3 separate regions of the Homo sapiens genome follow, and all the other regions are linked to region 1. The links are contacts of gene promoters, found by promoter capture Hi-C in blood cells and fetal thymus (Javierre and others, 2016). All regions are on one chromosome and are shown on one strand. Each heading gives the region's core, a stretch centred on a gene start or on the middle of the fragment in contact. The rest is flanking DNA. Distances are from core to core; before and after follow the strand shown. Region 1 holds the start of UBA6 (ubiquitin like modifier activating enzyme 6). Region 2 has its middle 26 kb from the start of YTHDC1. Region 3 holds the start of TMPRSS11E (transmembrane serine protease 11E).

The links. Contacts are between HindIII fragments. The CHiCAGO score rates a contact against its expected background, and 5 or more counts as called.
Region 2: a contact is called between a fragment that was not itself captured here and the fragment with the promoter of UBA6 in region 1, in 2 of 17 cell types (non-activated CD4 T cells and total CD4 T cells). The highest score is 6.9, in non-activated CD4 T cells.
Region 3: the fragment with the promoter of TMPRSS11E here is called in contact with the fragment with the promoter of UBA6 in region 1 in 6 of 17 cell types (non-activated CD4 T cells, total CD4 T cells, total CD8 T cells and 3 more); the score reaches 12.0 in non-activated CD4 T cells.

What each region holds. Positions count from the first base shown.
Region 1 is chr4:67,697,961-67,702,867 of GRCh38, reverse strand. It overlaps UBA6 (ubiquitin like modifier activating enzyme 6), which reads left to right and starts at 1,713. Exons shown (of 33, transcript NM_018227.6): 1 at 1,713-1,819. The coding sequence starts at 1,749. It overlaps UBA6-DT (UBA6 divergent transcript), which reads right to left and starts at 1,590. Exons shown (of 2, transcript NR_015439.1): 1 at 1,384-1,590. RefSeq lists silencers at 1,620-1,689, 1,820-1,989. The HindIII fragment of the contact is 4,018 bases long and covers 779-4,796 here.
Region 2 is chr4:68,373,180-68,378,024 of GRCh38, reverse strand. It overlaps the pseudogene MT2P1. Among named protein-coding and RNA genes, the nearest start is that of YTHDC1, 26 kb to the right of the region's middle. The HindIII fragment of the contact is 4,533 bases long and covers 1-4,146 here.
Region 3 is chr4:68,445,605-68,450,042 of GRCh38, reverse strand. It overlaps TMPRSS11E (transmembrane serine protease 11E), which reads right to left and starts at 2,580. Exons shown (of 10, transcript NM_014058.4): 1 at 2,520-2,580. The coding sequence starts at 2,530. The HindIII fragment of the contact is 3,931 bases long and covers 1,509-4,438 here.

The DNA of each region.
Region 1 (4,907 bases), core at 464-2,963:
AAACACTAGTCTCACCAAATTGATATATCAATTGTTGATAACAGTTTGTACCTTTTGTATATTAGTTTTGCTGAATGTAAAATCTTTGGCCTACATATTTTTCCCTTAAGTTTCCTCAATATGTCATTCTACTTTCTTATGACATAAAGCCTCACTGTCAAAAAGCTGTGATCGCCTAGTTTTCTTTCCCATTTTACATATGTGACAAAACATTAAAATCTGTTAAATCTGGTTGCTTGTTACATGCCTGAAATAATTCACACCATATTTTATCAAATCTAACATGCCCTCAATTTTAAGATGCATCGTTTTCTGTATTTATTTTTTAAAAATTCATCCTCTATTCATGGATGTTAAAATATGAAGAAGCGTGGGTAATGGCAGGCCATTGTTTTGGCCTAGCCTTCTACACTAGGCCCCATCAGATCAAACCAGAATGGAGTTGCTTGTGCTAAGCACCATGTAATTAAAGTGGATTTTGAAAAAATGAGCCAGTTTTTTTTAAAAAAACAGGAGATTCTAGTTAACCTAGTGGGCATAATAAGGAAGTATGCTCTGTTTTAACCTTTACAAGGAAAGAAACTTTGAAATAATCTGATTTTTGTTCTGTTTCTGCTTTCTTCAATCTTTTTCATTATCTTCAGTCCTGTAGCATTATCTTAGTGCTAGAGCAGAGCCTTGAAAGAATAGAACACAGATCAAGAACATTTTAATGTGGAAAAGGTTCACAACTGGATTGAGGAACACGGATAATGCTATAGGTGAGCAACATAAAGCTTCCAGGTATTTTAAGATGTGCAATTTTGAAGAGAATAGAGGGCACGAAGGATAATACAGTTTTGCCTGGACCCTCATCTCCATATGAGAGGAAAAATTTCTAATTAAAAATATGATACATCACAGAAAATTACATAATACCCAAAGTATATGCTAATTTTAAAAATCCTGCAGATGTTTATTCAAATATACAGTGTTATTTAGTGAAAGACAAATCCTAATGTTATTGTGTCCAACTCATTTTTGCTTTCTAAGAAAGGTGACACGGAAGTAAATGAAAAAGAATTATATGAGAACTTTTTAGATATGTGTTCTGGTAATCTAACAGTGACTAGCTCTATAACCTTGACCAAGTCACTTGCACTGACCGGAAGTTCCTTTCCCTTACCCACAAATTTAAGGGACCAAACTGGATGATCTAACGACATCTATGGCACTAAAAGTCACATGATTCTATTAAATCTGAGGCAGCGCCTCACATGTAGTGGACTCCCAAAATTATTTATTAAATGTATAACATCTTTAAGTGGTATCCCCTCACTGACAATCTGGAGCTATTAGCAGCCTTCAGTTTATTTATAAAATAAAGCTGTTTCCTCTTCTTACCGTTAAGACTCTTTTAAGGATTTGCAACGCTATCCCATCATTTCGCGGGTTACTAGAGTCCTGCATGTTTGGCTGTAGAGCAAGGGTGACGCGTAACTTCTGGACTTTGGTTCCATCTACATCTGCCGGATGCGGATGCCAGTCGCAACAGTAACGCCCCCTTCGGCCACCTGCACCACAGCACGCCATGCGGCCACACCCAAACCGGAAACCAGGACGCCCCTAGGGTTGACGGGAAGGCGCTGCCGGGCTCCTAGCTTCCCCAGGCCCGCCCCCTCTGATGACGTCTCCGCCCGCCCCTTGACCCCCCCACGGTCCCGCCCCTTCCTACCTTCCAGTAGCCGGCGGCGGTGTCTCAGGCGGCAATGGAAGGATCCGAGCCTGTGGCCGCCCATCAGGGGGAAGAGGCGTCCTGTTCTTCCTGGGGGACTGGCAGGTGAGAGGACGAGAAGGGCGAAGGTGAGGGGTCGCGGGTGGGACCCAGGCTCCGGGTTTCTGCTTCTTTCTTTCCGGCGGGCTGGGGGCGCCCGAGAGGCCGCGGGGCCGAGCAGAGCCGGCCCTGGGAGGCGAGGGGCGCGCGCGGAGTGGGTGTGGCGACGTGGGCTAGGGCCTCTGCTGTTGCCGGCTTTCCTGAGGGAAAAGTCCCCTTTCCGCACCTTTGAGGGCTTTCTCAGTTCTGGCTGGGATTCGGGATCCTCCTTCCTCCAAGTCACCAGACTTGGGGGGCTCCGGTCGAGAGCGAGTTCTGGTCTCGGTCACTTGGCGTGAGCTTCCCCGACTGGTGCCAAGCACCTTTCCTCCTTTCCGTAAAAAGAAAGCTAGGAGCGCCACTGTGCACCTCCACTGAGATCCTCTTTTGAAAACTATTACCAGAAGGAACTTGGTAAGAATGAATCAGTAGCAATCTGGACACCCTGAGGCCTTTGTTGACTTCGGAAGAAGGAAAAAAAAAAAGCCAGGAAAAAAAAATACACAAGTTACCCATTCTTATTTCCCACTTGGTTTTGAAGTTCTTCAGGTCTTTCCCGCCCCTGTAAAATTAGGGGGAAAATATTTGTGCTAGGCCTTTACCAATTTCTTGGTTAGTAGTTCCTCTTTCAATCATCTCATAATTAATAAAGCAAGTGGTTACATTCTATCCACCACTGTCAGAATACACCATGCCAAAGATAGAATTGATGGATGTATTATTTTCAGCTGATGTGAGACTTTGTAAACCTGTAGCCTTTTCGCCAGTTTCAGACTGAAGGGATGCTTTCAGTTTCATGGTGTTGTCTGCCATTGCCAACACTGCCAGAGTGGAGGGATATTATGTAATATAACCCGCGCCTTATTTGAAGCGTTTTTGATTGTCTTATAGATCATATTATTTTTACATATTTTTGAAACATTCCAGTGAGGCACAACTTTCTGAAAAGGGCCAGTCACGCCATTAAGTGGCAGAGCTAGTTAGACTGCAGCTGTTCTCGTTTTTATTCAGATTTACCCACCAGGCCTATTGCCCCCGCCATGCAAGGAAAACAGCAAGTGAAAGTGTACTAGGGATAAAATGATAGGAAAGTAGATAATAAAAAACTTTGGCCGGGCGCAGTGGCTCAAACGCTTGCAATCCCAGCGCTTTGGGAGGTCGAAGCAGGCGGGTCGCTTGAGCTCAGGAGTTCTTAGACTAGCCTGGGCAACATGGCGAAACCGCGTCTCTACAAAATACAAAAAAATTAGCTGGGCGTAGGTGATGCACGCCTGTAGTCCCAGCTACTCGGGAGGCTAAGATGAGAGGATCGCTTGAGTCTAGAGAGATCGAGGCTGCAGTGAGCCGAGATCGTGCCACTGCACTCCAGTCTGGGTGACAGAGAGAGACCCTGTCTCAAAAAAAAAGAAAAGAAACAAATTTTGTTAATTTTTATATTTTGTTACAATGCCCAAACAGGGTATATTGTGTATGTGTGTGTTTTTTATTAGGTAGGTGATCTCTTAGAACACAGCTATCTTCTGATTTGCCTTGGTAATTGGAATCAGTTTTTTTAATAGCTATCCGTTTAATTAGCTAGAAGCTGGTATCATTTGATATGTGCCAGTGTTTGGTGAGATAAATGATAACATTTTAATTACCTTTGTTTACAAATTCTTTGGCTTATTTATCAATGCTAGGACTAGAAAGTTGGATTCCAAGCCTGAATTTGATGCCATCGCATTGTTTTTAGAATCTTTTAATTGACAACTAGAGCTTCTCAGAACTAGGAATGGCCTCCACTTCTGCCAGTATATTGATCTCAGCTCTCACAGTGGTTCAGCTCCAAATGCTCCAGACTGGTTCCCTGTACCTGGGAATTATCTCTGCTTGCCAGTGTTTAGTACAGATACGTTTTTTGAAGGCCATGCTGTGAAAATGGGACGAGCACTGCTATAAATAATATGTTACTATAATAAGTATACTTTGTCAGATTTGCATATTTAGATTAGTTTTTTTCCTTTAAAATTTATTCATTTAACAGGGTTTTTTTGTTTTGTTTTGTTTGTTTGTTTTTTGACAGAGTCTTGCTCTTGTCACCCAGGCTGGAGTACAGTGGTGGGATCTTGGCTCACTGCAGCCTCCTCCTCCCGGGTTCAAGCGATTCTCCCACCTCAGCCTCCCAAGTAGCTGGGAATACAGGCGCCTGCTACTACATCTGGCTAATTTTTGTATTTTTAGTAGAGACAGGGTTTCACCACGTTGGTCAGGCTGGTCTCGAACTCCTGACTTCAGGTGGTCCGCCTGCCTTGGCCTCCCAAAGTGCTGGGATTACAAGCATGAGCCACCGCGCCCATCCCATTTAACAGGTTTTTTTAAGTGTTTCCTTTATGTCTAATATCAGAAACAGTAGGCAGTATGTGTGGTAGTCAAGAGCTAGACTGCCTGGGTTCAGATCCTGGCAGTGCCATTTGCCTGCTCTGTGACTTTGGGCAAATTTTAAGTTAACCTCCCTCAGCCTCTTTTTTCCATCTGTTCGTTGGAGATAGCAATAGTGCTTGCCCACTGTTTGGACAAGGTTGTTGTAAGGGTTAACTGAATAAGTACATCTAAAGCACTTAAATATGTAGCACAGGGTTATCTATTATTATTAAATGCCTGGTACTGTTTTAGGTATTTGGAATACAGTAGTGAGTTTTTAACAGACCATACATTTTTTTGGTAGTAGTGGCAGACAGTTAACGGTAAGTGATTTGAAGAAACTGACAGGTTAATGAGTTAGGCAGCAACCTAAGGATAAGAGTAGCCATTTTATTGATAGGGTGATCAGGAATGAGGTGTGTGGTATTTGTGACACAATATTTTAATAGAGGCTTAAGTGACAAGAAGTCAGCTATTCCGAGATTTTAAGAAAGAACATTCTAAGCAGAAGAAATAGGTAAAAACTCTGAAATGAGAGCAAGCTTGCCTTCTTGCGAAACAGCAAACAAGTCAGTGTGGCTTGAAGATAGTAAGCGAAAACGGAGACTGGTGGGAGTTGAAATTGGAGAGATAATTGGGAGACAGGACACATTGG
Region 2 (4,845 bases), core at 631-3,130, 670 kb before region 1:
ATCATATGTAATATAGAGATAATTGAATGTATACAGGAGGATGTATGTAGATTATGAGCAAACAGGCCATTTTATATAAGGGAATTGAGCATTCCTGGATTTTACTATGAAGGCAGTGGGTCCTTGAACCAATCCTTGAAGATACTGAAGAAAGACTGTACTAATATCACTCTTTCGTCCTGCAAAATTCTGTCACTGTATCTTACCTTTTCTCTCAGTTTTTTAGCACTGCTTTGTCCTTCCTGAGTCCTTCTAGAAGAGTTGATTGACCTGATCTTTCAGCTCACTAATTTGTATTTCAAGTGTGTTCACTCTGAAAAGCAGTATCTAAAAAACATCTATAAGGTTTATCTAATACCATACTTACTGAGTTATTTCAGTTATTAGGTTTTTCATACTGAATATCTCCAGTTGGTCCTTCATAACTGATTTTTCTGATTCATGTTTCTAATTTCCTCCTTTGGGTCTCTAAAAATATTTTTAGTCCTTTTAAAACAATTATTACACTTTTGAACATTTTTTTCTATCTGATCCATTCATTTGGCTTCCTCTTTTATTTTTATTTTTTTAGCTTCCTCTTTTAAAGATATCTGTTTGCCTACCTTCTTTTCATAATACATACATTCTTCACATTTTGTGATTTTGTTATTTTTTTCCTGTGAACATACAGTCCCTTATGGTCTTGGATGATATTCAGATGATTTAATAACAAGGACAGCATGGACACCAACTAATCCTAACAGAATGCTGAACATATTAGAACAGATAGATGCTCACTGTTAACTACCTGATATGGGCTCAATGACTGTCGTCCTAACTTGAGACTATCAGCTAATCATACTAATTAAGTGTACTATTATACCCTGATTAGTATCCTCAGATTACAAAGTTATTGTACCAAAAATCTCCTCCTAAAGACCCAATTCTGATGTCAATTTGATCTAAACTGGTTGACAACATAATTTCTAAATCTTTTCCCTGCAATGATTAAAGTATAATCCAACAGCTTCTTAAGATTTAAAGATAAGATTTTCAAGATCATAAAAGGTTTAACATAAGAAAGACTGTACTAATATCACTCTTTTGTCCTGCAAAATTCTGTCACTATGTCTTAACTTTTCTCTCAGGTTTTTAGCACTGTTTGTCACTTCCTAAGTCCTTCTAGGTAAGGACTAAGATAAAATAATTCCAAGAAAAGACCTCATGCTAGGAATAGTCTGTTTACCATCCAGCAAGAGTATTCTTTTTATTTCCAAATTAGATAACCTGCTACAATCATGAATTATTTTACATAGTTTATTTATATTAAAATTTAATAAAACAGTGGTAAAGTTTATCTGGTACTTTAATACTATTCTCTTTTTTTTTTTTTTTTCAAGTCAAAGCTGTTTTATTATCATTCACATTATTTCATAGAAAAAGGAATGTAGCAAACGTCAGGGTCAGGGTTGTACATAAAAAATCCAGGTTTGTAGAGGTCGCGTTATTTACATCTGGGGGCAGGGCTGTCCCAGCATCAGGCACAGCAGCTGCACTTGTCCGACGCCCCTTTGCAGATGCAGCCCTGGGCACACTTGGCACAGCCCACAGGACAGCAGGAGCAGCAGCTTTTCTTGCAGGAGGTGCATTTGCACTCTTTGCACTTGCAGGAGCCGGCGCAGGTGCAGGAGTCACTGGCGGCACAGGAGCAGTTGGGATCCATGGCGAGCTGAAGAGGCGGCTGGAGTCGGGACAGGTTGTACACGGGCTCGCTGGGACTTGGAGGAGGCGTGGTCAATACTGTTGTCTTTTTAAACTTTTGTTCAACATTTCAGTATCAGACTATTTCTTCTTTGGCACTTGCTTTCAATTCGCCTATCTTGCCACTAGATGGAGAGGGATGCCACTAGGTGGAGGGTGATGCCTACCACTAGATGGTACTTAAACTTACCTTCTTGCATTCAACAGCCTAAAAGATAGCTGTTTAAGTTTAACGTGTATATACAGGGTCTTGTCTTAATATGGTGAAAAATTAATGTTCCAGTTTCAAAAGCGAACTTATAACATCTTTTTTCCTCTAGGTCATTGAAACAAGAATTCTCTCTCTCTCTATCTTTCTCTTTCTCTCTTTAAATTGTTTTTACAGACGGGGTCTCCTTCTGTCACTCAGGCTATAGTGCAGTGGCATGATCATAGCTCACTGTAGCCTTGAACTCCTCGGTTCCCACCTCAGCCTCCCCAGTAGCTGGGATTACAGACTTAAGCCATCATGCTGACGAGCCTTCTTTAATACCTATGCTAAAACTCCATGTACTTATTTGGGAAGAAAAGGGAAGATGGTTAGCCCCATGAATAGTGACAATAATAATAATAAAGTTATCACCATTTCAGGATGGTGCTGTACATGCCACCTGCTGGAGAAAAAAGATGTGGGAGGTGTTACACTGACAGCCTGAGGGTTCCCCAGGAATTCATTTAGCCTCATTAATTCGGGGAAGGGTAGTTATTCCACCAGCAAATTCCAGCAAGCGAAATGGCAGCTTTGGACATTTGGGCCTCTCTAGTTTCTTTGAGTTATACAGTGCTTCCTTATAGAATTTATTTCCTTCCATGGATCTTACTGTGAGTAGCCAGATATCTAAATCCTGGGCTCATGCACAAGTAACCCCCAGACCTCATAAAATTATACTGCTGTATATTCGTACACTTACATTTCAAGTCTAGCATTTGCATCTAAATTCATTTGGCTGCATCATAATCAAGTCACATAATCTTGCTTTCATTTTAAGTCTTACAGGCTTCAACTAAGTTTAATTTTGAAAACAAGGCAGGGCGCGATGGCTTACGCCTGTAATCCCAGCACTTTGGGAGGCCAAGGCGGGTGGATCACTTGAGGTCAGTAGTTTGAGACCAGCTTGGCCAACATGGAGAAACCCCGTCTCTACTAAAAACATGAAAAATTAGCCAGGCGCGGTGGCTCACACCTGTAATCCCAGCACTCTGGGAGTCTGAGGCGGGCAGATCACTTGAGGTCAGGAGTTCGAGAATAGCCTGGCCAACATGGTGAAACCCTGTCTCTAATTTAAAGAAAATACAAAAATTAGCCAGGCGTGGTGATGCATGCCTGTAATCCCAGCTCCTTGGGAAGCCGAGGCAGGAGAATCGCTTCAACCGGGGAGGCGGATGTTGCAGTGAGCCGAGATCAGGCCACTGCGCTCCAGCCTGGGAGACAGATCGAGACTCCATCTCAAAAAAAAAAAAAAAAAAAAAAATTGAAAACTGTAAAAGGAACATTTTTTTTACTATATACTTGAAAGATCAAAAAAGAAGTGTCTATCTACCAATACAGAGCTACAGTAAGAGGTCACTAGACATTAAGTTATTTATTTCACTGGTAATAATTTTACATGGTTGAACGTTCATGTTAAGTTTCTCACCATGCGAGATGCGAGATGATTCATAAATACATTGCTGGGAAATACTGGGGAAACAGATCGTCTAAAGACTTAATTGCGGCCGTGCGCGAGGGCTAACCCCTATAATCCCAGCAATTTGGGAGGCCGAGGCCAGAGAATCACCTGAGGTCGGGAGTTCGAGACCAGCCTGGCCAATAGGACAAAAACCCCATCTCTACTAAAAATACAAAAATTAGCCTAGTGTGGTGGCGTATGCCTCAAATCCCAGCTACTCTGGAGGCTGAGGCACGAGAATCTCTTGAACCCGGGAGGCGGAGGTTGCTGGTGAGCAGAGATTGGCCACTGCACTCCAGCCTGGGTGATAGAGTGAGACTCCATCTCAAAAAAAAAAAAAAAAATCTAATCGTAATTCACTTGTGGTGAGAATTAAAATCTTCAAACTAGCCAAAGAAATTCATAGTTTTTAAATAATATGTCACTTTCCTTTTCAAAAGCATTGACAAATGTATTAATCATGACTGACAATATGGAACAAAGATTGCTGGAAGGAGTATAAACTGGCATAACTTTTCAAGAGAGCAATTTTGCAATCATTATCAAAAATTTGAAAAGTATTCATATTGTTTAGGGAATTTTATTTATTTATTACAGAGAAAATTACGTAACAACCAAAAAATTTAAAACTCAAGGGATGGTTAAACAAATCCTAATACATAGTTCTATTTCCATTACAATCAACATCGAATAAGCTTTCCGTGCCTTAGAGGTTAGAAGGTAAAAACTACGTTTCCCAGATATCTTCGCAGGGAGGGCTGCGGAAGGGTTTGGGTTCCGCCAATCAGATGCACCGTGTGCAGCGGCAGGGCGGCTGCGGTCCTTTTGGATGCTGCCAAGCCAGGCCGAGACTGCTTTGTTCTGCCAATGGCAGCCTCGGGCTTCTAGCGCTTCCACCTGACACTGCTGCCTTTGGATCGCAGGACTACCCATGCCATTTCTGGAGAATGGAAGTTGTTCCTAAACGCTCACACAGCGCCTGCCCCTACAATTCCAAACAGTTTGTAAGCCATCTAATGGTTTGCAGCCAGTGATAAATTCCTTTCTGCCTATTTATTCTGGAAGAGCAGTCTGCAACTGAACCATATCAAATACAGTATCGATATGGTAGAATATGGCACATCAATTTAAAAATCAAGGTTGTTAACTAATATTTAATGGCACAGGGGTAAATTCTGTAACTTTTTTATGGACACAATTTATTTTTCACTGATTTATAACTAGATCACTACTCATGCCAAAAACTATTTTCGTAACGGCCTGTGTAGTCTTTCAGAGCGAACAATTAAACACATGTGAGGAGTTTCGCTTCGTTGTAGGGAAAATTAAAAATGATTTTTAAACACAATACCAAAAGGATTTCCCTCCTTGACTCGGGCGCGATTCTGTGGGTGTA
Region 3 (4,438 bases), core at 1,331-3,830, 750 kb before region 1:
AGGTTTTTCCTGTAAACAAATAGATTTTTATGATCCATATAAAGTCATCCTCCTTATCAGACACAAACTAAGCAAAAAATGTCTATGTTCTCCCCCCTCAGTTTCCCCTCCTTTCTGAAATTATCCTCTCTTTCTTAATCATCACCATGTTGCATAAATGAGTACTCTTCTCCCTTGAAGGGAAAGGTGACTGGGAAAGAGCACCTCCCATTCAGATGTAATTACACCAATTTAAATAAAACAGAACTACTTTTAACAACTGGCCTATTTCATTTATGGTTTAATTTCTTTCAGGCTTACACATTTCTTTTTCTTTTTCTATGTCTTTACACCATTAGTGCTTGTCAAACTTTAGGGTAAATAAGAATTACATTGTGTAAATGTTTTAAATATGATTTCCATGTCTCAACCAGAGATTCATTAGAATTTCTGGGATGAGAGCTGGAGATTCCTATTTTTAATAAGCACTGTAATGCAGGGGTCTACGGACCACACTTTTAGAGACAGTGCTTACCCTATTAGGTAAAAATTAAAGTTGTCCATTTTGTGTCATTTGAATATTACTCATTTCACCTTCAGCCATCTCAATATGTGTGGATGTCGATGCCTATAAATTCAGTCTGCTTATTTTCACTTCTTCTCAGTGGTTGCTGATAAATACAGTTAGTATACACCCCTATGACCAATAAATATATTTAATGGACACATTCTTCTCTTCCCAAATCTGTTCTCTATAAACTTATGCCTGATAGAGTTTTCTTTAACTTTCTGTTGTGTGTTTATAAAATTCATGTGTTGATCTCTTCATGCTCAAAGAATAGTCCAAAATAAGAGTTTGGAGAAAATGGCAGTACAAGAAGAATAATGCTTACCCAGTTTAAATTTTTTCCTACCCTTAAATTCTAAAAAAAAAAAAAAAAAACTGATTCTTATTCAGGTAGAGTCAGGGAGAAGGCTATCCGAAATCTGACTGAAAAGGAAGGAGCATGCTATTTAATAAAATTCCCCACCTGTTTCTTGTATTCTTTCTGAGTTAAAACCAATGACCTTAAGAAGAAATTGTCTACTTATATCCTAGGATTTCAATTATCCCTCTTCCTCGATAACACTCCTGTTGGCACATTTACGACAGCAAATGTGAATAATAAACTTAATCCTTTTTTGCTCTAGTACATGCTCTTAACATTTTATCTCATCTAGACCCACTCAAACATAGATGTGCTTCATCTTTCATACAATCTTCAGATCAGGAAGACGTTTTTGTTTGTTAGATGGTTGGTTTTGGTTTTTGGTTTTTTCCATGAGAGATTATTTGCATCTATTCTGCAGCAGGATTTTTAAAAATAGTCACATCTTTTGCTTCAAATTAGAGACTACACTCAGAAAAATTCACTCCAGTATTCCCACATTATACCGCCTCTACACATTTATAACCAAATTCCAAATCTCTGACATATACCATAGATAAGGCTTGTAATCTATTTAGTATGTTAAGTTTATTGGAAGCTTTCTTGAAGCACTGTTTTCTATAGTAAAGTCAATGAGAAAAAGAGAATAGGATACAAAACCATCATTGGTTGTAAAGAAATACTTGCAAAAGGCAGGGAGCCTTGATAAGCCCAACAAAATGTTTAGTATCCGTAGCTTTTAGTTGCTTCATGGATATGTACAGAAGAGTATTAAACTTCTAATAACAAGTATGTAGAACTTTCAACTGATGACAGAACCTGTTTTTCCATGTTAAATGAAGACCACAGATTTCATTCAAAGTTTAACATTTTCAAACTGTTCTCAAAGTAAAAACTAATAAAAAATGATATGCCAATATGAGAATCAGAGAAAATAAATTTTAATCAGGAGATAAAATTATTTTCAAAGACAAAACTAGTACCCCAAAACCTTGTTACTGATTAGTTTCTAACTTTGAAAGAAAACCTCAAAATGATCATGACTTATCTTTGGAGAAGTTGACTATGGCCAGGCATATCAGTGGATTTATTTTTTAAATCAGGCTATAATAATTTAGTCATATTATTTTCTTCAGTTGTTTCTGATTCTTTCAAAACATCTAGAGTTTTTAAATTTTTAACTACTTACAGAAATAAACATTTTTTTCTGCATTATTTCAGACTTTTTTTCATGTACACCTTCTAAAATAAAAGTGTTTCTCAATAAGACAAACAAAGCCCAAGCTAAAAATATGTTATATCTTTCTTGAAACATATGGCCAAACTAACTAAAAGACAGCTGTCAAACACCATGTACCTTTACATTGTGTAGAAACCTTCTAAAAGTAAACAGAAAAACACATGGGATACAACAAAAGAGGACAGGAAACACTAATACAGAAAGAATAGAAATCTTTTTCTTGACATAATTTTATGTAAAATCTCAAAAATATGTTTCTATATTTAAAAAAATAATAAACTGTAGATCTACACATTCCTTGGTGTGGCTCATACTGTTTTAAACTAAAAGTTACCTTAAGACTTCTAGAAAGAAAAAGGGAACTAACTCACCGATACATCATTGCCAACCAGCAATGAAGAGTCCTGTGAAGGTCGAGGTCTACATCCAAGTGTGTGAATCCAGCTCTATCAATGACTTTGTGGGCTGAATTGAAGTGAGGAAATAAGTCACTGATGATCTCAACAGAACCAGTCTGACAAGTCTTGGCTGGTGTAGTGGGGACTATATGTGACTAGCAGGACAAGGACAAATTTTACAGGGAGCAAGAGCAAAAAATAAATTTATAATTTATTGTTTTAAGATAATTTCTTTTAAGTATTAGTGTAAACCAGATTTTTTAGAAAAGTCAGACGTATAAATTTGGAAAGAAATTTTAAAACTATCTTGCTTGACCTTCTCTTGTTTACAGAGAAGAAACTGAGGTTTAATTAAGTTAAATGACTTGGTCAAAAACCAAATAGTTATTAAATTGCCAAGCCAGGACTGACATTCATATTTTTTAAACTAGCCTGACACAATTTGCATTCGATTATGTACATAATAAAAATTTCACTTTGGTTTTAACTATGTTAGCCATTGAAAATACACTAGAGATTAGAAAAGCATTAATATTTTTAAATTATGTGGCATCATTCTTCTAGAAAAATCAGTTAGTTTGCAAATGTCAACCCATACTTAAGACGTTATATTTCTTTCATTATAGTGGAGACAGGCATATCAACTCACGCTGAATCACTACTGTCTTATTTCTAGGGTGAAAATTACATTTTTTTAAACGTGTGCTCACATACTATGCAAATATCTGTGTGTTTGTGTTAGGTATAATCTCTAAATTGCTTTCCCTAATCCTTACAAAACAGAGTAGGTGTTTCTCCTCTGTGCTTTCATGGTATCATAATACTTACCTCATTATACTAGAAATTTTATTAATTGTATCTCAACTCCACAAGGTTGTGAATTCTTAACAGACTGAAACCCTCTTCCTAGCATATTCAGGCTCTCAAAAATATGCATAAAAAGAATGAGTAGAGGGCAGGTTGCAAGGAAAGGAGGAGAAAAAGAGGGGGTATAACCCATCCTAAAAAGCACCTTAAAAATATTGTTTAATTTCATTACATATCCATTTAGCCAACAGCTCACCTAAACAGATGCAGGAGTTGGAATTTATGTAATGTGTGGGATCAGACGGCCAAGAATTGGAATCATTCACTAGCAGTAACCCAAGAAACCTCTGTGCTGAGGCATACTGTGCTAGGGGCTACCAACATATATCCTTTTTATTCTGGTCACTAGGTCACTTATCCTGATGAATAGCATGGATATTTATTTACTTAAAGTCATTCAATATATAGTATTAGGTTTCTGTATACTCATTTAAAAATTACACTTTAGCCAAAAATAAAGAGGCAATAATAACAGTAAAAACTTCTGGGTTATGAGATTAAGCTGTTCTTATACAGCCTTTAACAAAGTGAAATCTCTGCCAATGAAATGTTAATATGGTTTAATAATACTATGTTCTATTTTATACTCACATTTTATGAAAATATTGATAATACTTTTGTTTTCAAAGGAAAACAGATTCCCTCTCAGTGTAACTTTGGGCCAAGACTTGCCAGACTTATTTTAACAAAATCTCAAGACATTTGTTTCTTTCACAAAATCAAGATTTCAAATTCAAATAAATTCTTTATATAGGCCTATGGACCTGTATACTTAGGGTAATATATAACCTAGAATTGTAGATACAGAAAATGAGAGGGCTATCATGAATTTTTTTAAAACTCTGTGAGTATAAGCTACAATTTGTAGAAAATTAAGAGATTACGCATATGTAAATAAAGGACAAGTGAATGTCAGACTAAAGATATTAAAAATATGTCTTCCTTGCTATATTAATGGCCTTTGTTCAGTCTGCTCAATGGGCATTGCAGTGTATATTATCAAATTTTATGATATATCTTACACT